Linked DNA regions of Homo sapiens: all the other regions are linked to region 5. The links are contacts of gene promoters, found by promoter capture Hi-C in blood cells and fetal thymus (Javierre and others, 2016). All regions are on one chromosome and are shown on one strand. Each heading gives the region's core, a stretch centred on a gene start or on the middle of the fragment in contact. The rest is flanking DNA. Distances are from core to core; before and after follow the strand shown.

Region 1 (4,009 bases), core at 1,044-3,543, 180 kb after region 5:
TCTTCCAGAGAGAAGTGACAAAGCTCTAGGTTCCAGAGATACAAGAATGAGGAGGAGGCAAAACAGCTTGGGAATGAAGGTGAAAGCTGACAAAAAGAAAAACTGTTTGACAGTTGTTGACTTTGCAATTTTTCCTGATAAACTCTTACAAAAGTATCTCCAGGTTAGTATGAAGATAAGAGAACATCCCTATCGATTTATCCCAGTTTTCCCAGTCAAGTCTGTGTCCCAAATGGAAAAAGAGAAAAAGAGACCAATTAAAAGGAACTAGAAAAGAAAAAAACTATATATTACTAAACACACATGCACTCGCACACACACACCAAGGAGTTCTTGAGCTCATTTTCCCTGTCTTTCATACTTACCAACAAAAATATTTAAAACATTAGGATTTATATCCTCTAATACTTATCTTTTATAAGTACTATGTAAGACATTAATAAATGCACAGAAGAAATTGATGATTCAGAGCGAGAGAAATGAGACAGCTACTTCAAGTTTACTTGCAGGAGGCGATTGATTTTGGGAGGCTTTAAAAATAAAGGTAGAATGTTTTATAAGGTTTTTCCTAAACTGGTAAATACCTGAACTTAAATTTAAGATAAAAATTTTATCTCCAATTCTAATAAATTTCATTTCTCAATTTCTTTTGGATCCAACCTGACCACTCCAGCTCTGTTTTCTCTATCTATGTATCTGTTGCCTAAAATATTATTATAGGCCAACTTAAAAGTCATCCTCAACTCTTCTCTTTCTCCCACACTCTACATCCAATCCAACAAAAAATCTTGTTGGTTCTACCTTCATAACCACTTTCACTGCTACCCCCCTGGGTTGAGCCACCATCTTCAGTCACCTGAATCATTGCAAAAGGCTCCTAACTGGTATCTTTAAGCTCTTCTATGTCTATTCTTAACACACTTGCCAGTGCAATCTTTACAAAATGTAAGTCAAACTATGATTCTGCTCTGTTCAAAATCCCCCATTGGTTCTCCTCTCACTCTGAGTTAACATCCAAATCCTTAGAGATGGGTCACAGGCCTTACCTCCCGAGGCTCCCTATTCCCTCCTTGATAGCATTTTCAACAGTGTTGTTTCCCTTGCTCACTCACCCCAGCCACCATGGGCTCTTTACTGTTCCTTAAACCCACAGCAGCTGTGCTTCTATTTTGTGGCTATTTATTTTGCCTGGAATCCCCTTCCACCAGATATCTACTTGGCTAACTTCCTCAGTCTCCTAACCTATTCACTCACATCTCCTCTTCCCCAAGAGGAGCATTCCTTCAAGCTGACTCCTGTTTCTGAGTTTCTGAGCACTCCCTTACCTTCTGGAATAAAAAGCTATTCCAGGCTCGCCTCACATTTTCCCTTCAGTTGCTCTCAAGCCTTCATCGAAGGACTGTATACTTGTATAAATCAGCATATGGACATTCTCGGCTATAAGGGATGACATGGGAAAGAGTAACATGCAGGTGCCCAGCATTCACTACTCTACTGACACCTGCTCAATGCAGTAGCTTCCTGATACAAAGAATCATGATCCAGAATCCCAGACAATCACAATGCCTACAAAAACTCCTTTAAGACTTCATTATGTCCTGAATTCCATTTGTTTTTGTAAGTGCTTTATTAAATTAATTTTAAAATGGGCAGATTCATGTATGTCTTTTTAATTTTGTGTCCTGACTTCCTGGAGTTTTTCTTTTCATATTAGAAGATCCAACTTTGAGTATTTTCTAGCACTTAGTAGATGTTCAATAAATGTTTGATCCGGGATTGATAAGGGCCATCTTTTCAATTTTATCAACAATTCAAATGGAAAATATTGAATCATATAATATGCCAGTGCCTGCAAATAGCAGGCATATTGCAAGAGTAACCAAAGTAAAAGCTGAAAGAGATTTCTACAATCTGCTGGTTCTGAGATATAAATAGCAGAAAAAGTTTTTTGGGTTTACTGGTTTTCAACATTCCCATTGACAACATAATAAAGTGGCAAAAATTTATGGAAAAACATATTTGATGTTACCCTTGTTCAATCCAAGCTTTTGGAAAATTGTAGGAAAACTAAAATATTTCGATATTTATCTGAACTTTTGGTCAATTTTAGGAAAACTAAAATGTTTCAATAATGCCAAATTCAATATTTTTTTATGATTCAGTACTAAGTAAATGAATGTTATAAAATCGTGATTAACTACTAAATTAAAACCACCATGCCAGCTGCTAAATTCTAAGAGAAAGTATAAAATCCAGGAATTATGTTAACAGTATTTGTATTAAATCTATGACTGCCAAAACATCCATGTAGTTTTATGAATGCTAAATAAGTGCCACAAATAAATCAATAATTAGGATGGTTTTAGAAAATAGCTACACTTCTTACTCAAAGAATATATCAAAATTTAGGATTGTAATTAACTCTGGTTGGAGGCAGAGGGACAGAATAGTGGAAAAGCACATAAGATTCAATAATATTGGTAAAAGTCTAGTTCCAATGTTCACGATATGCATGGGTGTTTGTTTTTATTATGCCTTTTATTAAGCTTTATTCTTTACATCTTTGGTAAGTTTCTTTTGCATATATCAATTATTTCATAATCAAATAGTATATTGGCAAATATTTCAGACAAGACTAATCTAGCATATCAAGTCTTGATTTCCTCATCTAAGATAATAGGGATAATAATAGTACTTGTACTATAAAATCAATGTTAAAATTAGATGCAATAATATATAAAAATTATTTAGCAGAGTATCTAGTGTATATGTATATTGGTATGCATGGTATGTATGTGTGTATGTACGTATATAACTAATCACTTTTGGCACTCTTTTTTCAATCTTTAGTCTTTAAAAGTATAATGTAGCTTTTGGCAAGTTTCAAAAGGTCAGGTATAAATACTGCATTTGGATCCACCTTGAAATGTTTCAGTTATAAACAACATTCTTGATGAATGTTTCCATGTCTTAATAACACATTTATCTTGGAAAATAAGCATTAAACATTTTTCTTTAAAATGCATGGAGACCTGCATTCTACATTTAGTGTTACAAATGTTGTCTAAGACCTTGGTCTTGATGGCTAGTTGTAAAAATCCTTGCCATAAATGAATAGGCAATAGAATCTTAATAATTTGTGCTAAATAATGTGCTGGAAATTCTGAGCATAATGAGTCAGAATTGATTATGAATTGTGATTTATCTACACTACAATTAGATTGTCTAATTTTACCTTCTTTTTTTTTTTTTTTTTTTTTTTTTTTTGAGACGGAGTCTCGCTCTGTCGCCCAGGCCGGACTGCGGACTGCAGTGGCGCAATCTCGGCTCACTGCAAGCTCCGCGTCCCGGGTTCACGCCATTCTCCTGCCTCAGCCTCCCGAGTAGCTGGGACTACAGGCGCCCGCCACCGCGCCCGGCTAATTTTTTGTATTTTTAGTAGAGACGGGGTTTCACCTTGTTAGCCAGGATGGTCTCGATCTCCTGATCTCATGATCCACCCGCCTCGGCCTCCCAAAGTGCTGGGATTACAGGCGTGAGCCACCGCGCCCGGCCCTTTACCTTCTTATTTACCAGGCAGAAGCAGAAGAGACTTTTTTGAAGATTACTAAGTTCAACAATTGTGCCATTTCTGCTTCCTTTCCCTGAGACAAATATAAAATTCATAGTAGACAGTGCACAATCAAATCAAGCCTCTCTCATTTACTTTTAAAAATCTATGAACTCACTCAAAAATCATAGTTTTCTATATTTTTTGCTAAGGTATACTCAGAACACCCTACTAAATTCCAGGCTGTGCTGTTTCAAGATAAGTCAGGCTGTCTATCACTTCTGACTACCCTTTCCTTCACAAAAACAAACAGATTTGGAAGATACCATTTAGAGCTGGTATATGAAGCCCAATTCAGAATCAGTTGAGAATATAAGCAGGGATATGTTTAGCTCTTTCCATTGACAAGTAATTATTTTCATTATTCCATTGTATTCTGAATGAAAGCATTGACAATGG
Region 2 (4,408 bases), core at 1,534-4,033, 130 kb after region 5:
ATTCTTCCTGTTAAGAAATATAAGTAATCAGGAAGATGTGAAAAGAGAAATAATTGAAAAAGACTGGAGTACATATACTATCTACAGTGTCTGTTTTAAAGAAACAACATTCTAGCACACCTTTCTACCCTTGACTAAGATTACTGTAATGAGAGCACCAGTACCCCTGAGTAACCGAAAGGGCATTTTGGAAACTGAGCTTTTGGTGTTTATATGAACATTCTGTCTTCCAGGACCTGCCTTGATTTATTCAAGACTCATACTGCTGTATATGGTGTTGTATACATTAGGGGTAGTTGGGTAGCAGTAACTGATATAGAAAATTTTAAATGTAAAAAACACTGGGGAGTGAACCTTTCCATTATATATATATATATATATATATATATATATATATATATAAATATATAAATATATATATAAATTCACATCAGGATGAGTTTCTGTTTAGGCAATGTTGGAAAACGCTATTTCCATTTTTTTTTTAAACAAATATTTAACAAACATTTATAAGGCACTTAAATCCATGCTGGCTCTTACAAATGTTGACTCATTTCTCATAACCACCTTGGGGTAGAAACGGAGAGGCTAAACAATCTGCAGGCGATGCTTCACTACTAAATGCAGGTGGCAGCCTTGCCTGTGTTCTCTGCTTGGCTAGGAACACAGGTCTTACCTATTGAGCTGGGCTGTGTAGAACTCTGTTGTGGAGACATCTGCCCCTGGGGCAGAAGCCTCTGCTTTTTCCCCCTCCTCCCATCTTACTCCATGTCTCAGAGAGCTCTGAATCCCACTTGGAGAATCACACTTAAACCCTCTAAAAACCTAATGATGAATAAAAATAAGTTCTCTAGAACTTCTGGAGAAAAAAGTAATAAAGCTACCAGGTTAAATGACTGAAATTCCTGAGAGAAAACAACATGTGTGTGTTTCTCTAGAAAGGGGGCCCAATACTGAATACCAGGAAGTCCTATAGTAAATGGAATGTGACTCTATGTGGGATCCGGCGTTCCTATTTCATCCGAATGCATGTCTGCTGCTTCAGTGGGAAGGGTGCTTGCACACCAGGTACCCACTCCCTGGTGTCATGTGCTATGCAGTCCAAAGACAGAACCAGGAATGGTGAGCCCATGAGCCTGCTGGACCCAGCCCCTCCGAGGTCCGGAGTGACAACCAGTGCCGTATTTCTAGATCAAACCTGAACCCCTCCTACAGGGAAAAGATTTCCAGGGGATTTTGAAAGTTCCAACATTTTACAGGGAAGAAGGAAGATAAGCAGGATATGAAAGAAGAGTTCATGTTATACAGCCCTGGCTTCCACTGACGCTAACACTGGATTCAGCTTTTGACACTGATAATCTGTTGCCACCAAATGGAAAACGTAAACAAGATATTCTAAGTGTGGTTAGAGAATATGCAACACAAGGAACAAGCAGAACATTCTTCTCTGGAATCTGACATAATGGACTGTACTTTCACAGACAGCACTGATGTTAGATGTACGTGAAATAGGCTAAACTGAAAATAAGAAAGGCTGAGGCAGAGAGGATAATATAGCTCCAGCCTATCTCCCAGCACCTTGTTAATTTCTCTCAATCTCCAGCCACAAATCCGAGACACAACGCTCTTCCTCCAAAGAGGTCGCGCCTTCTCTGTGGTGGTTCTCAGGGATCCGCCCCAGCTCCTTCTCCGTTCCCAGCCCCACACACTGGGATCACCAGGCACCCAAGATCCCACCTCTCAGGTGGTATCTTCAGCGCAGGCTGCCACTCAGCCCCCCTCCAGGGATCTGGGGCAGAAGGCGAATATCCCAGAGTCTCAGAGTCCACAGGAGTTACTCTGAAGGGCGAGGCGCGGGCTGCATCAGTGGACCCCCACACCCCACCCGCACCCCAAGCGCTCCACCCTGGGGGCGGGGCCGTCGCCTTCCTTCCGGACTCGGGATCGATCTGGAACTCCGGGAATTTCCCTGGCCCGGGGGCTCCGGGCTTTCCAGCCCCAACCATGCATAAAAGGGGTTCGCGGATCTCGGAGAGCCACAGAGCCCGGGCCGCAGGCACCTCCTCGCCAGCTCTTCCGCTCCTCTCACAGCCGCCAGACCCGCCTGCTGAGCCCCATGGCCCGCGCTGCTCTCTCCGCCGCCCCCAGCAATCCCCGGCTCCTGCGAGTGGCACTGCTGCTCCTGCTCCTGGTAGCCGCTGGCCGGCGCGCAGCAGGTGGGTACCGGCGCCCTGGGGTCCCCGGGCCGGACGCGGCTGGGGTAGGCACCCAGCGCCGACAGCCTCGCTCAGTCAGTGAGTCTCTTCTTCCCTAGGAGCGTCCGTGGCCACTGAACTGCGCTGCCAGTGCTTGCAGACCCTGCAGGGAATTCACCCCAAGAACATCCAAAGTGTGAACGTGAAGTCCCCCGGACCCCACTGCGCCCAAACCGAAGTCATGTAAGTCCCGCCCCGCGCTGCCTCTGCCACCGCCGGGGTCCCAGACCCTCCTGCTGCCCCAACCCTGTCCCCAGCCCGACCTCCTGCCTCACGAGATTCCCTTCCCTCTGCAGAGCCACACTCAAGAATGGGCGGAAAGCTTGCCTCAATCCTGCATCCCCCATAGTTAAGAAAATCATCGAAAAGATGCTGAACAGGTGAGTTATGGTTTCCATGTACACAGGCGACTGGAGCCGTTGGTCAGAAATACTGGCATGTGCCCCCTAAAAATAAAATCAGGAAAACCCAGGGGTTAGTTGAAGGACTAGAAATTGGGATTATTGTTTTCACAATTAAGGTTTCCTTTACGATAATTACTGCTCTGGTGCCAGAGGATATTCCCAATGCCTGGCGTCCCCACCCTGGTTCTTCCTTCGTTCCAATGAATGTAGGTAAAACTGCCTTCATTTGAGGCCCAGTAGGACAAACAGCAACAGGTTCTGGCTGTTTTTAATCCAATAGTACAGTGGAGACCACCGCCCCACCCCACCCCCATTCCTAAAAGAGCATCCCAAGCTTAGAGGTCCCTGCCACACAGCACAGCTGTCATAGGCAGTAGCCACTTGGTTGCCAGGCTGGGGAAACTGCATTCGGAAAACTCTAGAGGCTGGAGGAGCAGGGCAGGAGAAGAGTGTTGTGCAATCAGCTTTCCCGAGCACCTACTCAGGGCACCCATTTTCTCATTGCAGTGACAAATCCAACTGACCAGAAGGGAGGAGGAAGCTCACTGGTGGCTGTTCCTGAAGGAGGCCCTGCCCTTATAGGAACAGAAGAGGAAAGAGAGACACAGCTGCAGAGGCCACCTGGATTGTGCCTAATGTGTTTGAGCATCGCTTAGGAGAAGTCTTCTATTTATTTATTTATTCATTAGTTTTGAAGATTCTATGTTAATATTTTAGGTGTAAAATAATTAAGGGTATGATTAACTCTACCTGCACACTGTCCTATTATATTCATTCTTTTTGAAATGTCAACCCCAAGTTAGTTCAATCTGGATTCATATTTAATTTGAAGGTAGAATGTTTTCAAATGTTCTCCAGTCATTATGTTAATATTTCTGAGGAGCCTGCAACATGCCAGCCACTGTGATAGAGGCTGGCGGATCCAAGCAAATGGCCAATGAGATCATTGTGAAGGCAGGGGAATGTATGTGCACATCTGTTTTGTAACTGTTTAGATGAATGTCAGTTGTTATTTATTGAAATGATTTCACAGTGTGTGGTCAACATTTCTCATGTTGAAACTTTAAGAACTAAAATGTTCTAAATATCCCTTGGACATTTTATGTCTTTCTTGTAAGGCATACTGCCTTGTTTAATGGTAGTTTTACAGTGTTTCTGGCTTAGAACAAAGGGGCTTAATTATTGATGTTTTCATAGAGAATATAAAAATAAAGCACTTATAGAAAAAACTCGTTTGATTTTTGGGGGGAAACAAGGGCTACCTTTACTGGAAAATCTGGTGATTTATATCAATATTTCTCAATTTTTTAATTGTGTTTATTTTTCTGGGTGTTCAATTTGCTATACAGATAAATCAAACTATGAGTTATGCTTCATTTCATGCGGTGATTGCTGCCAATACCCTTGGCTCTCACCTAGTGAAGAATGCGCTTTACTAAACTATGGGCTGGCCCCTAATGGGAGAGTCACTGATATAAATTGCCCTTTTTATAAGAAGTTTCTTTCTGTCTTGCTACTCAAATTTACCTCCTTAAAAATATTTATATTATCTTAACAAGGGCTCTCATTTCATTGCTTTTGTTGAACAATATTTCTCATAATTGTTGACAATTTAATGAAGCTGGCAGTGAAATGGTGGCTAAAATATTTCGTTTTTCAAAACTCAAATCATTTGTGTCGTCAATAGAAGCAAAAGTGAGTGGCTGAATGCTTCACCTGTGAAAAGATCTGATTGAAATTTGGGCTCAG
Region 3 (4,215 bases), core at 446-2,945, 160 kb before region 5:
TCCAGTATCTGTGGTCCTGCTCTGGCCTGGGCAAGCCAGCAAACTTCTCTCCAGTGGGCTGCAACCACACCTTCTCCAGTGAATTCTGAAACCCTCATTCCTGCCTTTCCTTGTTAGGATTCTTTCCCTCAGCCTTAGGGTACCTTCTCTTTTCATCTTTATTATTATTCTCCTATCATAGCTTAATTATTATTTATATTAAACTTTCCCTGTTTAAATTACTACCTTGTTTCTGTCTTCTGATTGATACAGACTAACACAGTTGTTCACTGTTAAGATACGACTTTTTTCATATACTTAGTGGCCATTTGCATTCTCTCTTCTGTGATTTTTCTTTTCATATCTACCTTTTTTTTCTATGTAAGACTTGGTTCTTCTCTTATACATTTCAGTCTATTGAAGACTAACCTTTTGTCATGTTCATGGCAGGTACATGACACTAGTTTTTTATAAGTATGTTGAATTTTAACTATTACATTTGCCTCATTTAAGTGAGATGAGACTATTTTCTTATTAATATTGACAGGTGAAAGAATAGCGATGCAAGCCTCTGGTTTACTCAGTAAGAGAGACTTCTTAGGCTTGAAAAGGCCATAGCACACTTTCACCTTCAACCAGTTTAGGTTTGGTAATACTGAGAAGTAATGCCTTTGTCTTAAAAATGTTTCATATTTTAATATTGTTAATCTTCCAGTTGGGTTTACTGCATATAATCTCATTCCTTAGTACATGTAATATGATCAATTTACTACAATGCTTATGAGGAATGCAAATGGAATTAGTTTACAGAATGAAAGAATGTTGCATATAATTCCATTTTAATACAGAATTTATAAATAAAATCATAGTTTATACTTATAGCATTTCTTCATTTTTAGTGTTTTTTTTTCAAGTGGGTTAAACAGATCTGTGAGTACCTTGAGAGTTGTCATGTAGAATAAGATGCTAAGAGGGCAGAGTTTGGGATTCCCTATGTAACTTCAGCTACAACAGCCTTGCTTTATCCATTGTATTCATTCAGCAACAAATAGGTATTTGTGGGCCAAGTCTTACTTTAGCCGATGTAATATGTCTATGTGATATAAACATTTTTTTGAAAAATAAATAAAGAAAAAGTTCAATTAACTTAAAAAAGAGCTTAAGAAAAGCTTTGAACTGATGAAAGGTCTTTCATCAGCAGAAGAGAGAGAATAAAAGGGCTGGGGGGAGGTTCAGAAAATTTCAATTAGGATTTCTTAACAGAGTCCATAATTTTTCCTTTCCAAAGGCCAGACAGCTCTGATGTTACAGATAGTCAGAAGTCAACAGGCCATTTAAGATAGTCCTAGATTTTATGAAAATGCCAGAGTTTTCAAGAAGCTACTGTCACTATCAGGTAGATTCCTTGATGGTGTAAGACTGTATTTCTTTTTCATTCCAAGAACTGGCAGCTTCTTTTTTCTGAGTCATTTCTGAATCCATTGATTATGTTTCAGTTCTCTTGAGAGTCCAAGCTAAATGAAGTTTAAACTGCTTATCTGAAGACACCATTTAAATTTGAGTTCATTACATGGTTTACTATAAAAGCTATTTGGCATATGCAGTATTCAAGCTTATTTCAGTTACTGAAACTAAACTCAAACTCATTTTGTCCAACTGTGAACCCTAATTAACCTCATCACTTCAAAAAGAAATGAGCTTTTTTTGACATTCAATTTTCTACGATTCAAGTCTCATATATGTTCGTATAAATGCAAGTACAGAACTTATGCATTCATCAAAGAGTAATATCTCTGAGTTTTTTGAAATGTTTTAGCAATAGAAGCTTGTACTGCTAAACTGTTGTCTCTGTTTTTATTACTAGTTTATTTTGAAGACATTTCAGTATAATCGCCTTTTCTTTATTGAATCTGAAAATGAGAAGAAGAAAGACTATTAAAAATTGGACATATTTTGTGCATTGGACATATTAAAGAACGGAGTATCCAATGTGCATGCTCTTGACTTACTTTGTTACTATTCTTTGAATCTCTCTTTTCTCTTCTTCATTTAATCTTTGAAGAATGGATTCCAAGAGAGAAAAGTGAAAGTTAATGTACTGAGCCACCTAAGAAAGAAGAAGAAGAAAAAAAAAAGAAAGCAGAACAATTATGCAAGAGGTGCTGAGTCAGGAGGGAAGCAAAAAACAGATTCAGGGTGATGGTATTCATACATCACTGCTAATTTCTTCTGCATCTTTATCCATGAGGAAAATGCGAGCATTCTTTTCAGAAGGTCCCTGTAGGAGCCTCTGCAGTAGCGGAATGTCTGTCTTCTTTAGTCGTCTTTGTTCTGCAGTGAAAACAAGAATCAACCACAATCAGAAGTTCATGCTGCAGGAAAAGAAGGAAGATAATTTTCCAATTTATTTTTCGTATTTAACTCACTTTGAAAAAAATAACACCTGCAACAGGAGGCAATTACTCAAAAAAGCAAATTGAAATTAAAACTTAAATGAACTTCTTTCTCTTACTGTATCTCAAGTTTTGATTAATGTCTCAAAGAACTCAGCCTTCCTTTGATTAGAGTGTTCAAACAAATCTCCGGTCTGATAGGCCTTTTATAAAGCAATATGCCTCAATAATTATTTAGGTTTCATTCCACCATTCCTTCATCCATACAACAAATATTTATTGGTTCTTTCCAAGTTGAGTTGATGTAATTCCATCTTTCTGGTTCTTCAGGTCCAAAACCATGTAATTATTTTCAATTCTTCCTTTGTCTCGCTCCACACCCAATTCTTGGCTCATCTTTAAAAATATATTCATGAGGTTTTTGAGATCAATAATATTCTTATTATTCATTCATCTGGGCTTAATCCATTCAGCCATGAAAATGAGATAGAGAAAGAAAATATCTTCCAATCTGGTGTGTTTCCAGAACTTCAAATTTCCAAAAGTTATAATATAAATACTCCTGCTACAAAAGTACTTATAGCTTTCTGTCAAAGTAGTTTCACATCTGGGATTTCATTTTTATCAGAATAAAGCATGAACAAAACATAGTGTCCTTATATTCATCTTATTTCCTCATTCTCTCCTTCACCTTGCTTACTTTCTTCAGAACAGTGAGAACTGTTCTCATTCCCTGAGCTGGACTTATCCCAGGAAAAGAGTCAAGAGAGAGTCTAGAACTCAAAAGCCCAGCCTCCCCACAATTAAAGTGATATTACCCATTCCTGTTCACATAGTGTCAGTGTTTACTGTTCTAATTCCTCTGCCATTTCTGAAGCAGTTGGGAGCCTTGACAACTTAGCTCCTCTCATCCACCCACCAGAATCCTCTTTTGACCTTCAGGTCCAATGTTAACTTGGCTTAGCATCCTCTTGCTTCATGATTCTGCTTTATGGGATGATTATTAAAAATAATGATTAAAAAATTATGATGATGATTATTAAAAATGCATATTCCTAGAGTTGTCCCCTGATCTGGAAGGACTTGGGAATCTGTATTTTAAGTGAACTCTATAGGTAATCTGAAATGAACTACAGTGTGAGATACACTGTAATGGGCTTTGTAGATATAAAGTTAAAACCCACCTATCTCTGTTTTCCAGATTACTGCCCAAACAGGAGCCATATGCTCTCTTCTGACCTAGTTATTATTATCTGCAGTTATGGATATATGCAAAATTTTGACACAAAATATAAAAGAAAATGGGATTTTTATAGGTGAAATTATAAAGAACTACATTTTTTATAATGAAAATAGACATTTTTTTCTTATAAAAACAACACGCTTGTTCGTTCATAGGTCCAGCACCTTGTGTGGAGCCCAAGAATGACTGGAAGGAAACTAAGCCATATTTCTGCTCAACTGCAGGCTAAAGTTAGAGGTGTGAGGAAAGAACGAGGTGCATGTGAATGGAATCCAAGTCTTGGAGAACACCAAAGAGGGAATTTTCAAATCTTGTACAACCTAGCTGTTCAAGTTATCACACAATCATTTAAGACTTCTTAATAAAACTGCTTTTTTTAAACTTAAAAAAAAATTCCCTTCCCCAAACATGCATGCTATTGTAATTGGAACAAACGAGAAAAGTATAAAGCAGGAAGTAAAGCACAACTGGAATTTCCAAGCCCTGAGATACTCTGCATTACCCTTTGAGTGTCCCCCTCACACAACTCATAATACATAAAGGTAATCATATCGTGCTTGCTATTTTTATTGTACACACCTTTAAACAAATCATTTTTTC
Region 4 (4,592 bases), core at 1,645-4,144, 160 kb after region 5:
TATTATTTATAATTAATATTATATCAATTATATTTCTAATCAGTAGGCATAATAATATATCAATCATGATTGTTATGATTAATGTAATTAATAATATAATAATACAATTTATAATAAATAATTAGTAATATTATTAACTGTGCTTACTGGACTTTTTTTTATGAGTCAGCTATGTGCCAGGCAATGTGTTAGTGCTAGTGGATAAGTGGCCTCTGTCCATGTGTGCATGGAGCTTCCAATCTAGAGAGGGAGAGAGACACTCCCTAGAGAGTATTGTGAGGATTAAACTTTAAAAGAGAAAAGAGCTGGGTCCTAAGATAGGATGTATCAAGGAAAATTGTTTTGATCTAGAGGGTAGGAGGATGGAATGTTTAAGCTGAGTCCTGAAATACAGTTCTAGCAAGATTTACTACTGGTAGAAATGTTTCAGGGTATATTGGTTGGGATGATGGTTAACAAATAGACTCTAAAGTTCAGTGACTAAACAAGACATAAGTTTATTTCTCTTTCACTTAACAGTCCAGAGTAGGTAGTCAGGTTTTGCTCTGTAAAGTCATCCAGAGTCCCAGGCTACAATGGTGGTTCTGCCATTCTTCACTGCGGCTTCTACAGTAGCTCCATCGCCACTATGTCCAACCAGCAGGAAGGAAAGGAAGATGGACAACTAGGAAGAACTTATTTAAACAGAAGACCTGAAAGTTACACTTACCCAGGAAGGTCAGCTGGGTGTTTAGACATGCCATTGTTGAACTAGCCTGACTTGGTGTTGTCGTCATTCACTAGGATCTGAATTTTGTATTGCTGCACTCTTGTCTGAAACATGTAGGTAATACAGAAATTATGTTCATATATATAAATTTTATATACCCTAAAAGTTAGTTTAGTTCAATAAACACTTAGAACTTGTACTTTTTTCCCCCTTAGAGATAAAAACATGGTTAATACTTTCATTCACTTACTTGTATTCTCATTCATTCAGCAATGTTCATCGAATATCAACAACCTGCACTAAATTTCAGGCACTTTGAGGATGTTCATGAAACACAGCCCTTGATCTCAAGAGATTCAGAGTCTATTGTGGATCGGAGGGGAGCAAACATCACAGTTTAGTGCAAAATAGAGAGAAAGATGTGATATTATCTGCATATAAATAAGTGCTGAAGAAGGTGGGGACTGTTCTCTGCCAAGAGAATGGGGAAAGGTTGTGGGAACAGAGCCATCTGAGAGAACTTGAATATTGATTTTATAAACAAAGAAGAACCTTCCGGTCTGATATGGTTTGGCTGTGTCTCCACCCAAATCTCATCTTGAATCGTAGCTCCCATATTCCTGTGTATCATGGGAGGGACCCAATGAGAGGTAATTGAATCATGGGGGTGGATCTTTCCTGTGCTATTCTCATGATAGTGAATAAGTCTCATGAGATCTGATGGTTTTATAAATGGGAGTTCCCTTGCACACACTCTCTTGCCTGCTGCTATGTAAGATGTGCCTCACTCTTTGCCTTCTGCCATGATTGTGAGGCCTCCACAGTCATGTGGCACTGTAGGTTCATTAAACCTCTTTCCTTTATAAATTATCCAGTCTCAGGTATGTCTTTATTAGCAGCATGAGAATGAACTAATACACAGTCTATGAGAAAAGTCATAAATAGCTCAGTGTGATTGGCTAGTTTAGGGGTGGCAAATAGTCCAGAGTGGGTGAAGTAGCTAATCAATAGATAAATGAAAATAGAATGTTAAAAGAGAGACAAATTGTGAAGAACCTCAAATGTCAAGCAACATATATTTGAATTTGTTTAATAAATAATGGGAAACTAGTGCAGATCCTTAAGAGGGGATAGATGTGACTGGATCTGAGTTTCAGAAAGAGTGCCCTGGAGGCAGCATACACAGTTAAGTGGCAGCTGAACTTATAAGCATAGATGCAGGGTTTCCAGAGTAAATCCTGCCCCTGATGCCTGTGTGATGTTGAGCAATTGGTTTACCCACCCTGTGCCTTAACTTTCTCATCATTAAATAGGAATGATAATGATAGCTATTTCATAGAACTGTTGTGAGCATTAAATTGAGTAATTCATGTCAAGAGTTTAAAATAATGTTTGACATTTAATAGGGATACATAAACGTTTACACACACACACACACACACACACACACACACATATATATATATATATATACCTTGGAGAGAAATGGAAACAAATTAAGAAAACAGAAACATCTAGTTTGAGCTAGGCTAAAAAGGGCAGTGTAGATACAGGAACAAGGGACCTGGAAACAGATTATCTCGTGCCCAATCGCAGATAAATTGTTTCTTAATTGTTCTAACCCTTTTTTTTCTCTGTAAATTAGAAATAATAACAGTGCCTATTTTATAGAATTGTGAGGAATTAAATTACACAATACATGCAAAGTGCTCAGCAAAGAGCCTAGCATCTACTGATCACTCACAAGATGAGAATTTTCATTATCAAAAAGGATTTATTCTAAAAGCTTGAAATTCTATAATTTTTTACCTCTGAATTAGTTTTGTCCTTTATCGCAACATTGATGTAGTACAAAAAACACAGACATTATAACCAGGTAAAACTGATATAAATTTTTATTCTGTCACTTCAAAGCAGTGTAAATTTGGGCATATTTTTTCTAAAATTTAGGAGCACCTGTTTCCTCTTGAGACAATTATAATGCTTCCCACAGTAAAATGTTGCTGTGAAGATTACCTGAAATAATTTGCATAAAGAACCTAGACTGGAACACAGTAAACACGTAATAGAAGTTGAATGCCCCCCTCCTCACACATGCCTTTTTTTTTCTCTAACTCTCTCTCACATCTGCTCTGAGAGATTAAAAAGTCACATGCAACCTCAACCTGGGCATATCTAGTCTAACCAAGACTGATGAGAATCCCATTTTAGTTGCAAGCAGAAGATTGAAAACAGAGAAGCACTGTTGTGAATCATGAGTTGTGGGTTCAGGCCGAGAAGGACAAAACCAAACTAACCCAATCCCTTCACTTGCCAAACCTCTTGCTGTTTGACCCCCGACTAACAGCTAACCAAAATTAGCCACAGACCGCTGATGAGCGTGTGAGCCATTGTGCAACTTTTCCAACTGGATAGAACATGAAAAATTAAGGAGAGAAGGACCATCCAACAGAGAGGCAGTGAGGGCTGAAAATACAAGGGATGATTATAGTAGGCTTGGCAGGGGACAGGATATGCATTAATGTGGAGAGAGGGATTTTCTTTTTTCACATCAAAACACACAGAATTTGACCACCTAAGTGAACAAGCTTTCTTCATATCTGGGAGTCTTGATGACATAGTTTTTAAGAAAACTGGTTTAGGAATAGTGATTGCTGAGTTCAAACCCTGGCTCCACCATTTGTGAGCTGTTATAGCCTTGAGTAAGTCATTTAAAAGTTCCAGCTGGGCGCAGTGGCTCATGCCTGTAATCCCAGCACTTTGGGAGGCCGAGGCGGGTGGATCACCTGTGGTCAGAATTTCAAGACCAGCCTGGTCAACATGGTGAAACCCCATCTCTACTAAAAAATACAAAATTTAGCCGTGCATGATGGAGGGTGCCTGTACTCCCAGCTACTCAGGAGGCTGAGACAGGATAATCGTTTGAACCTGGGAATCGGAGGTTGCAGTGAGCTGAGATTGTGCCACTGCACTCTAGCCCCTGGGCGACAGAGCTAGACTCTCTCAAAAAAAAAGAAAAAATTCTGAGCCACCTTTTCCTTGATAGTTCCCAAATCATTACACTAATGCAATGATTAAGTATTATCATAACCTTTACAAAGCAGATGAAATAGAATCTTGGGACATATTAAATATTTAAAGATATTAGCTATTACAATTGTGATTTAAGTTTTTAGCTGGTCAGCACACTTTAAGGAGAGTTGAGGCAATTGTCTATTACAGATGGTACAGATGACAAATAAGATGAGTCAGGCAAGTAAGATGAGTCTGCTTGACTGATCTCATTTCTTAGATTTATTTAGTGTAGAATTAACCTAAAATTACTTTCTTTAAAATAATTTTTCTACTAGATTTCATTGTCATCCCAAGTTTTTAAAATTCTATTTTCCTGAACTTCTGATACATGACACTTTTCCGTTTCTGGAGAAACTTATCCTATTCACAACTTCTATCAAGTGACTTGCTTCTTAAGTATCTTCAGGCTTGGCTATTGCTCATAGATCTTTTATCTAGCCCTTACCACTCCTCAATGTGGTTTGAATCTTACTGCCTTCCCTTCTGACTCTAATCTAAATAATAACCCTTGAAAAGAAAAGCTCAGTTTCACCTTCTAGCTATACAAGAGCATTCTCTTTACCTAAGTTAGAGGAAGTGCTCTCTTGTTCACTATTTAGCATTTTGTGGCTAGAGACAAACTGGGTTCTCTGAGCCTGCAGAGGTAAAATAACAACTCTCACCTTCACCCATGTTAGAATTAATGAAAGAAACAAATCTCATATCGACAAAGATTCTTTGCTTGACTAAACTTTAGTCAGCTCCTCTACCATCTCCTAAGCCCATCTGTGAATAGCCTTGTAAAATCTAGTATTAGCAAAGAAGCCTG
Region 5 (4,256 bases), core at 1,249-3,748:
CATTCCCACTTCTGATGGAGAGGGTTCTAGGACATAATGCACTGAAGGTTACATTGTGAGAGATGAACAACATTTGCAAAAGAGGTCTTTTTGCCTTGGAAAGGCTTCATTCTTAAAAAAAAATGTGAGCATCAAGGTTAAGTAGACCTCATTAGCTCAAACTTTAAGGATGATATCAGGATAAAGTTGGGCCCATGAGAAGAGAATGAGAGGGAGATATAGTGACATGAAAATAAGGAGGAAAACGAGGTGTCTATGTAAGTTGGGCTCACCATAAATACAAAGGCAACCGTTAGGGAAAAGCAAAGAAGTCTTTGCACATCCTCAGAACTCTGAATGTCTTAGTGATGCTGTATGAGTGAGTCTTAATGATAGTGAACTGAATCAGTCAAGCCAGGTTGTGTCCATATGAGAATGTGTCTTTGCTAAACATGCCAACATCACTGAAGCAAAGAAACTTGGAGTTTTCTTTAAGATATAGGTCTTTTTTACCTATCCGGCCCAAGCTTTCTCTTCTTGTCACTCCATGCACTGTGTTCCGTATGCTAAATAGTTTGAGAAACCCAAATGGGCCATGTTCGCCTACATTTCATTGTCCTGTACTTCCTGTCCTGTACTAGCAAAGCAGTCCCATTGGTCTTTCTTCTCCTCATTAACAATAAAGGTAACACTTTTGATGTTGTTTCTTCAGAAAACCTTCATTCATCAAAACTGCCTCAAAGATCATGTTTGTTTGATTCCAGAACTTCCTGTAATTACCTGTTATTGTAACACTCATCACTGTATTTTACTTACTTGTGTAACTAATTTTCCATATTCTGCACTAGACAACAAAGTCCTTTAAGTCAGGTACTATATCTATTTACATAGCATTCACATCTCCTACAATAAGGGACATTAGCAGATAAACAACACATATTAAATGAATAATGAAGTTTCTGAAATACTACAGTTGAAAACTATAGGAGCTACATTATATAGAATAAACATTTACTTTGCTATAGAATTCAGTGTAACCCAGGCATTATTTTATCCTCAAGTCTTAGGTTGGTTGGAGAAAGATAACAAAAAGAAACATGATTGTGCAGAAACAGACAAACCTTTTTGGAAAGCATTTGAAAATGGCATTCCCCCTCCACAGTGTGTTCACAGTGTGGGCAAATTCACTGCTCTGTCGTACTTTCTGAAAATGAAGAACTGTTACACCAAGGTGAATTATTTATAAATTATGTACTTGCCCAGAAGCGAACAGACTTTTACTATCATAAGAACCCTTCCTTGGTGCTCTTTATCTACAGAATCCAAGACCTTTCAAGAAAGGTCTTGGATTCTTTTCTTCAGGACACTAGGACATAAAGCCACCTTTTTATGATTTGTTGAAATTTCTCACTCCATCCCTTTTGCTAGTGATCATGGGTCCTCAGAGGTCAGACTTGGTGTCCTTGGATAAAGAGCATGAAGCAACAGTGGCTGAACCAGAGTTGGAACCCAGATGCTCTTTCCACTAAGCATACAACTTTCCATTAGATAACACCTCCCTCCCACCCCAACCAAGCAGCTCCAGTGCACCACTTTCTGGAGCATAAACATACCTTAACTTTACAACTTGAGTGGCCTTGAATACTGTTCCTATCTGGAATGTGCTGTTCTCTTTCATCTTCCTCTATTGAAGCCCTCCTATTCCTCAATGCCTTGCTCCAACTGCCTTTGGAAGATTCTGCTCTTATGCCTCCACTGGAATTAATGTCTTAGTACCACTTGTCTATTCTGCTATATAGTCAGTCCTTACATTGCTTTCTTCTTCTGATAGACCAAACTCTTTAAGGACAAGTACCTAGTCTTATCTATTTCTAGATCCCCCACATTACTCAGAAAGTTACTCCATAAATGTTTGTGGAACTGATTTCTATGTGAAGCACATGTGCCCCTTCACTCTGTTAACATGCATTAGAAAACTAAATCTTTTGAAAAGTTGTAGTATGCCCCCTAAGAGCAGTAACAGTTCCTAGAAACTCTCTAAAATGCTTAGAAAAAGATTTATTTTAAATTACCTCCCCAATAAAATGATTGGCTGGCTTATCTTCACCATCATGATAGCATCTGTAATTAACTGAAAAAAAATAATTATGCCATTAAAAGAAAATCATCCATGATCTTGTTCTAACACCTGCCACTCTAGTACTATATCTGTCACATGGTACTATGATAAAGTTATCTAGAAATAAAAAAGCATACAATTGATAATTCACCAAATTGTGGAGCTTCAGTATTTTAAATGTATATTAAAATTAAATTATTTTAAAGATCAAAGAAAACTTTCGTCATACTCCGTATTTGATAAGGAACAAATAGGAAGTGTGATGACTCAGGTTTGCCCTGAGGGGATGGGCCATCAGTTGCAAATCGTGGAATTTCCTCTGACATAATGAAAAGATGAGGGTGCATAAGTTCTCTAGTAGGGTGATGATATAAAAAGCCACCGGAGCACTCCATAAGGCACAAACTTTCAGAGACAGCAGAGCACACAAGCTTCTAGGACAAGAGCCAGGAAGAAACCACCGGAAGGAACCATCTCACTGTGTGTAAACATGACTTCCAAGCTGGCCGTGGCTCTCTTGGCAGCCTTCCTGATTTCTGCAGCTCTGTGTGAAGGTAAGCACATCTTTCTGACCTACAGCGTTTTCCTATGTCTAAATGTGATCCTTAGATAGCAAAGCTATTCTTGATGCTTTGGTAACAAACATCCTTTTTATTCAGAAACAGAATATAATCTTAGCAGTCAATTAATGTTAAATTGAAGATTTAGAAAAAACTATATATAACACTTAGGAAAGTATAAAGTTTGATCAATATAGATATTCTGCTTTTATAATTTATACCATGTAGCATGCATATATTTAACGTAAATAAGTAATTTATAGTATGTCCTATTGAGAACCACGGTTACCTATATTATGTATTAATATTGAGTTGAGCAAGGTAACTCAGACAATTCCACTCCTTGTAGTATTTCATTGACAAGCCTCAGATTTGTCATTAATTCCTGTCTGGTTTAAAGATACCCTGATTATAGACCAGGCATGTATAACTTATTTATATATTTCTGTTAATTCTTTCTGAAGGCAATTTCTATGCTGGAGAGTCTTAGCTTGCCTACTATAAATAACACTGTGGTATCACAGAGGATTATGCAATATTGACCAGATAAAAATACCATGAAGATGTTGATATTGTACAAAAAGAACTCTAACTCTTTATATAGGAAGTCGTTCAATGTTGTCAGTTATGACTGTTTTTTAAAACAAAGAACTAACTGAGGTCAAGGGCTAGGAGAATATTCAGGAATGAGTTCACTAGAAACATGATGCCTTCCATAGTCTCCAAATAATCATATTGGAATTAGAAAGGAAGTAGCTGGCAGAGCTGTGCCTGTTGATAAAATCAATCCTTAATCACTTTTTCCCCCAACAGGTGCAGTTTTGCCAAGGAGTGCTAAAGAACTTAGATGTCAGTGCATAAAGACATACTCCAAACCTTTCCACCCCAAATTTATCAAAGAACTGAGAGTGATTGAGAGTGGACCACACTGCGCCAACACAGAAATTATGTAAGTACTTTAAAAAAGATTAGATATTTTGTTTTAGCAAACTTAAAATTAAGGAAGGTGGAAATATTTAGGAAAGTTCCAGGTGTTAGGATTACAGTAGTAAATGAAACAAAACAAAATAAAAATATTTGTCTACATGACATTTAAATATGGTAGCTTCCACAACTACTATAAATGTTATTTTGGACTTAGACTTTATGCCTGACTTAAGGAATCATGATTTGAATGCAAAAACTAAATATTAATCTGAACCATTTCTTTCTTATTTCAGTGTAAAGCTTTCTGATGGAAGAGAGCTCTGTCTGGACCCCAAGGAAAACTGGGTGCAGAGGGTTGTGGAGAAGTTTTTGAAGAGGTAAGTTATATATTTTTTAATTTAAATTTTTCATTTATCCTGAGACATATAATCCAAAGTCAGCCTATAAATTTCTTTCTGTTGCTAAAAATCGTCATTAGGTATCTGCCTTTTTGGTTAAAAAAAAAAGGAATAGCATCAATAGTGAGTTTGTTGTACTCATGACCAGAAAGACCATACATAGTTTGCCCAGGAAATTCTGGGTTTAAGCTTGTGTCCTATACTCTTAGTAAAGTTCTTTGTCACTCCCAGTAGTGTCCTATTTTAGATGATAATTTCTTTGATCTCCCTATT
Region 6 (3,988 bases), core at 480-2,979, 200 kb after region 5:
AAATATTATTTATATAAAACATCTATTCATGTTTTTATATAGTATATGTTTCTATACAATCTTATACATCTATGACATATTGTGCAACTTAAAAAACTTTTTAAACCTGCTACATTATATTGCAACTTTTGAATGTTCTTTGTCCAAGTATATAAAAGACTTCCCAATAATCTAGCATTATCAAAGTATTTTTAATGCTAGTATGTGTCATTGCTTATTATAGATGTTCATTGACTTCAAAAATCAATCTACACATTTCAGTTTATGCCTTACTCATGCTCCAATGTCAGATACTTTTTTTTGAAGAAGAAGAAGTTACTAGAATAGAATCTTGAAGATAGTGATTTTTTTCCTTCACCATGTAAGAATAATGCCCAAACCCTTGTCTCCTATATTGTTAGTCTGGTAAATTTTGCAAGAACTTCATCTCTGAAAACTACTACTAGAGACTATTACTTTCCCCTCATAATTCCTACTTACATTATTTCTTTTCAGCTACAGCAAGAAGCTTCAAGTATCAACTGGACATTTTTAATGAGTATAGAAAAAAATTTAAAAAATCATATTCCAAATATATTGATATTGCAACTCTTAGCTCTCAGAAGCATCAGCTATGTGAGGTAAGTACAGAAAAATCTGAATGAAGATAAAGACAGCCATATTGCCTAACCCTTAATTTACTATTTCAAATCAATGTAGCTGGCCACAATATTGGATTAAGAATTCAACATTAATAGAAATAGTCATGGAGAAATCACAGAATACCAATTATTTGCCAATATCATAATCAATATGAATTTATTGAGCTGCTACTATGAAATAGTGTTAGGCATAAAAGAGCAAATATCCACTCCTTAAGGTTGTAATTGTAATCAAAACCATAACTACATAAGTATAAAAGAACTGCTTGAGTCCAGCGAAAATTTATCGGTATAATTTGATGTAAGATTTCAGTTGAATGTAATAATTCCATCTGCTAACTAATATTAAAATAAACACCCTAGATTGACTTGAAATAATATTACTACCATCATCTCCCCTTTACCCTTCAGAAAGAGAAGTACAGACCCTTTAATCAGAATTTCAAGTTAAATAAATTTGTTCTGCCTCTATCTGGGCTTCTTTGACACTTGACAAACTGCATGCATGTCCTAGTTTAATTTTAGATATTTCACAGCTTTTGTTTTGCTTAAAGCCAAAAAACATCTCTTTAGACCTGGTTTCTCTTTTATGTAATGTTAAATGGATGAAAGAAAAGGACAAACTTTGTAAGGGCAGATAGCCAAAGAATGTGAGATCTCAGTAGACATTTCTGATTTCAGACCTTGGTAGACTCAGGACTATAGTGTTTCTCAGCCACCACAATCTCAAGAGCAATTTTGTTGTCTTCTCCCTTTTTGTTGAAGAATGAAAGGAGAAACTTATCAAAGTGATGTTTGTCAGTTACAAGCCAATAAGAAAGTAGAATTTAGTTTTCCAGTTTGTTTTATTTGGGAGGAATGGGAAGTGTAGAATGTAATAAATCTGTTGATAAAGATATGAACTGTTTGCCTTTTTATTTCCTGGAGGTGGAACTATGCAATTTTGAAGGATCCAATGACATCTGCAGTTAATAATTATTTAAAATGTGCTGTCATAAAAAAGTCTGTATCTTTTTAAAATCCAAGTTAGTACTAAGCAGGAAATTAATATGCTTTAACTTATGTTTTCATTTTATGTCAATTTGAATGATCATATTTAAGGTATTAATGGAATCTTCCATCTATTGATAGGCTATTAAGGAAATAGAATTCAGAATAAATTAACTTATTGCAGTCAGGAGCAGTATATTCAGCTTCACAGCTCTTAAAACTGAATTACTAAAAATGGAGTATGAACTCAAATTCTGTTTATTATTCTGTTAAATGACCTTGGTTACATTATACTGAATGCATTTTTTCCTTTATCAACATATCAAACCCTTTAAAGCAATAATTAATAGAATTGTAGATACAGTGCCACTTTATACATAGCTTCAAAAATCAGAGTATCTCATTTGCTTTCACGTGGAAGATATCACTGAGTTGTATCAAAAAAAATGCATAAAAGCTCAGCATACAGAGAAAAACCTGAAGGACATTGCAAACAGAAGCATACTCCAAGAGGTAAAGTTTTGAGACAGAAAATGGCATATGAAAGAAAAGTCTCAACATACAATATGATTGAATGACTTTTTAACATTCCACTGATTGCTGACTTCTTGGTCTTTATGTCAAGCAAAAACTCAATGAATCAGAAACACTATTCAGACACTATCTTTTGTTTTGTTTTGTTTTTGAGACAGAGTCACTCTGTCGCCCAGGCTGGGGTGCAATGGAGCAATCTCAGCTCACTGCAAGCTCCGTCTCCCGGTTTCAAGCCATCCTCCTGCCTCAGTCTCCCAAGGGACTACAGGCACCTGCCACCACGCCTGGCTAATTTCTTGTATTTTTAATAGAGGCAGAGTTTCACCATGTTAGCCAGGATCAGACACTATCTTAATCTCTTTGAGTCATTATTCTCTATGCACAAGGTAGAAATGATCAAATTGTGTGTTATCAGTGCTATCATGATGATAATAGAAAATAAGTATACAAACATGAGATAAAAGTGTCTTAAAAAATATTATCTAACTTCACATTAATTTAGGATTTTTTTTAAAAAAAAGACATTTATTCAGCGTCATGATCAGACTATTACATTTAGCAATCAACAGCATGGGTGCAAAAAAAAATCTACATTAAAACCCTTTGTTGGAATGCTTTACACTTTGCACAGAACAGAAACTAAAATAACCTGTTATACAGTTAGTCACAAATACAGTCCTATTTTTGCCCATACACATGAGTATTTGTCTAAAACATGTCTTCTTTGTAGCAGCTAGACCTTGCCACCACTGTGCTTGACTGAGTTCACAAATCTGTTATAACCTGAAGCTTCCCTGTCACTTCTCTGGCTCTCCTCTCCAGCTAAGCTTTGTTCCCTAATTAAAATCTTCTGCCATTGCCATAGCTACTGCTGCTACTGGAACCGCCATAGCCACCTTGGTTTTGTGGTTTGGCCAAGTATTGGCCTCCACCCCCATAGGGGTCAGAGCTTCCACCTCCAAAGTTTCCTCCCTTCATGGGTCCAAAATTTGAAGACTGATTGCTGTAATTGCCAAAATCATTGTAGCTTCCACCACCTCCAAAATTGCTTCCATCATTACCAAATCCACTATAGTCATCCCCACTGCCACCATATCCACTACCACCGTGGCTGCCACCAAAGCTACTATGACCCCTGAAGTTTTCTCCATGACCAAAGTTGTCATTTCCACCGAAACCACCTCCATGACCACCACCAAAGTTTCCAGAACCACTTCGCCTCTTTGGCTAGAGGAAGCACTAGCCACCTCTTGCTTTGACAGGGCTTTCCTAGCTTCACAGCTGTGGCCATTCACAGTGTGGTATTTCTGAATGACAGTCTTATCCACGGAGTCATGGTCGTCAAAGGTTACAAAGGCAAAGCCTCTTTTCTTGCCACTGCCTCAGTCAGTCATGATTTCAATCACTTCAATTTTCTCATACTGTTCAAAATAATCTCTTAGGTGATGTTCTTCAGTGTCTTCTTTAATGCCACCAACAAATATCTTTTTCACAGATAAGTGGGCACCTGGTCTTTGAGAATCTTCCCTTAGACAGCTCTCTTTGGTTTTATAACTCTTCCATCCTCCTTGCATGGCCTTGCATTCATGGCTGCATCCACCTCCTCCATAGTGGCATATGTGACGAACCCAAAGCCCTTGGAGCACTTTGTGTTTGGATCTCTCATTACCGCACAGTCCGTGAGCGTTCTCCTTTGCTCAAAATGGCTCCTTAGGCTCTCATCAGTTGTTTCAAAGCTCAACCCTCCAATGAAGAGCTTCCTCAGCTGTTCGGGTTCTTTAGGAGACTCTGACTTAGATGTAACAGCAGGGAGAAGAGAGACT

What was found. The method cuts DNA at HindIII sites, captures the fragments that hold promoters and counts their contacts. A CHiCAGO score of 5 or more calls a contact.
Region 1: a contact is called between a fragment that was not itself captured here and the fragment with the promoter of CXCL8 in region 5, in 4 of 17 cell types (megakaryocytes, neutrophils, endothelial precursors and 1 more). The highest score is 14.8, in megakaryocytes.
Region 2: a contact is called between a fragment that was not itself captured here and the fragment with the promoter of CXCL8 in region 5, in 4 of 17 cell types (neutrophils, megakaryocytes, endothelial precursors and 1 more). The highest score is 15.4, in neutrophils.
Region 3: a fragment that was not itself captured here is called in contact with the fragment with the promoter of CXCL8 in region 5 in 1 of 17 cell types (megakaryocytes); the score reaches 5.6 in megakaryocytes.
Region 4: a contact is called between a fragment that was not itself captured here and the fragment with the promoter of CXCL8 in region 5, in 4 of 17 cell types (megakaryocytes, neutrophils, M1 macrophages and 1 more). The highest score is 9.8, in megakaryocytes.
Region 6: a contact is called between a fragment that was not itself captured here and the fragment with the promoter of CXCL8 in region 5, in 1 of 17 cell types (neutrophils). The highest score is 5.3, in neutrophils.

Annotation. Positions count from the first base shown.
Region 1 is chr4:73,918,659-73,922,667 of GRCh38, forward strand. No RefSeq gene overlaps it. Among named protein-coding and RNA genes, the nearest start is that of CXCL1, 51 kb to the left of the region's middle. The HindIII fragment of the contact is 501 bases long and covers 2,044-2,544 here.
Region 2 is chr4:73,867,355-73,871,762 of GRCh38, forward strand. It overlaps CXCL1 (C-X-C motif chemokine ligand 1), which reads left to right and starts at 2,039. Exons shown (of 4, transcript NM_001511.4): 1 at 2,039-2,216; 2 at 2,315-2,438; 3 at 2,552-2,635; 4 at 3,167-3,954. The coding sequence starts at 2,117. The coding sequence ends at 3,182. The HindIII fragment of the contact is 416 bases long and covers 2,576-2,991 here.
Region 3 is chr4:73,574,422-73,578,636 of GRCh38, forward strand. RASSF6 (Ras association domain family member 6) reads right to left here. Exons shown (of 11, transcript NM_177532.5): 9 at 2,192-2,310; 10 at 1,989-2,086; 11 at 1-1,889. The coding sequence ends at 1,814. Among named protein-coding and RNA genes, the nearest start is that of RASSF6, 44 kb to the right of the region's middle. The HindIII fragment of the contact is 213 bases long and covers 1,590-1,802 here.
Region 4 is chr4:73,898,264-73,902,855 of GRCh38, forward strand. No RefSeq gene overlaps it. Among named protein-coding and RNA genes, the nearest start is that of CXCL1, 31 kb to the left of the region's middle. The HindIII fragment of the contact is 802 bases long and covers 2,494-3,295 here.
Region 5 is chr4:73,738,071-73,742,326 of GRCh38, forward strand. CXCL8 (C-X-C motif chemokine ligand 8) reads left to right here and starts at 2,499. Exons shown (of 4, transcript NM_000584.4): 1 at 2,499-2,652; 2 at 3,472-3,607; 3 at 3,879-3,962. The coding sequence starts at 2,589. RefSeq lists a silencer at 962-1,256. The HindIII fragment of the contact is 2,023 bases long and covers 505-2,527 here.
Region 6 is chr4:73,935,599-73,939,586 of GRCh38, forward strand. It overlaps the pseudogene HNRNPA1P55. Among named protein-coding and RNA genes, the nearest start is that of PF4, 44 kb to the right of the region's middle. The HindIII fragment of the contact is 2,446 bases long and covers 507-2,952 here.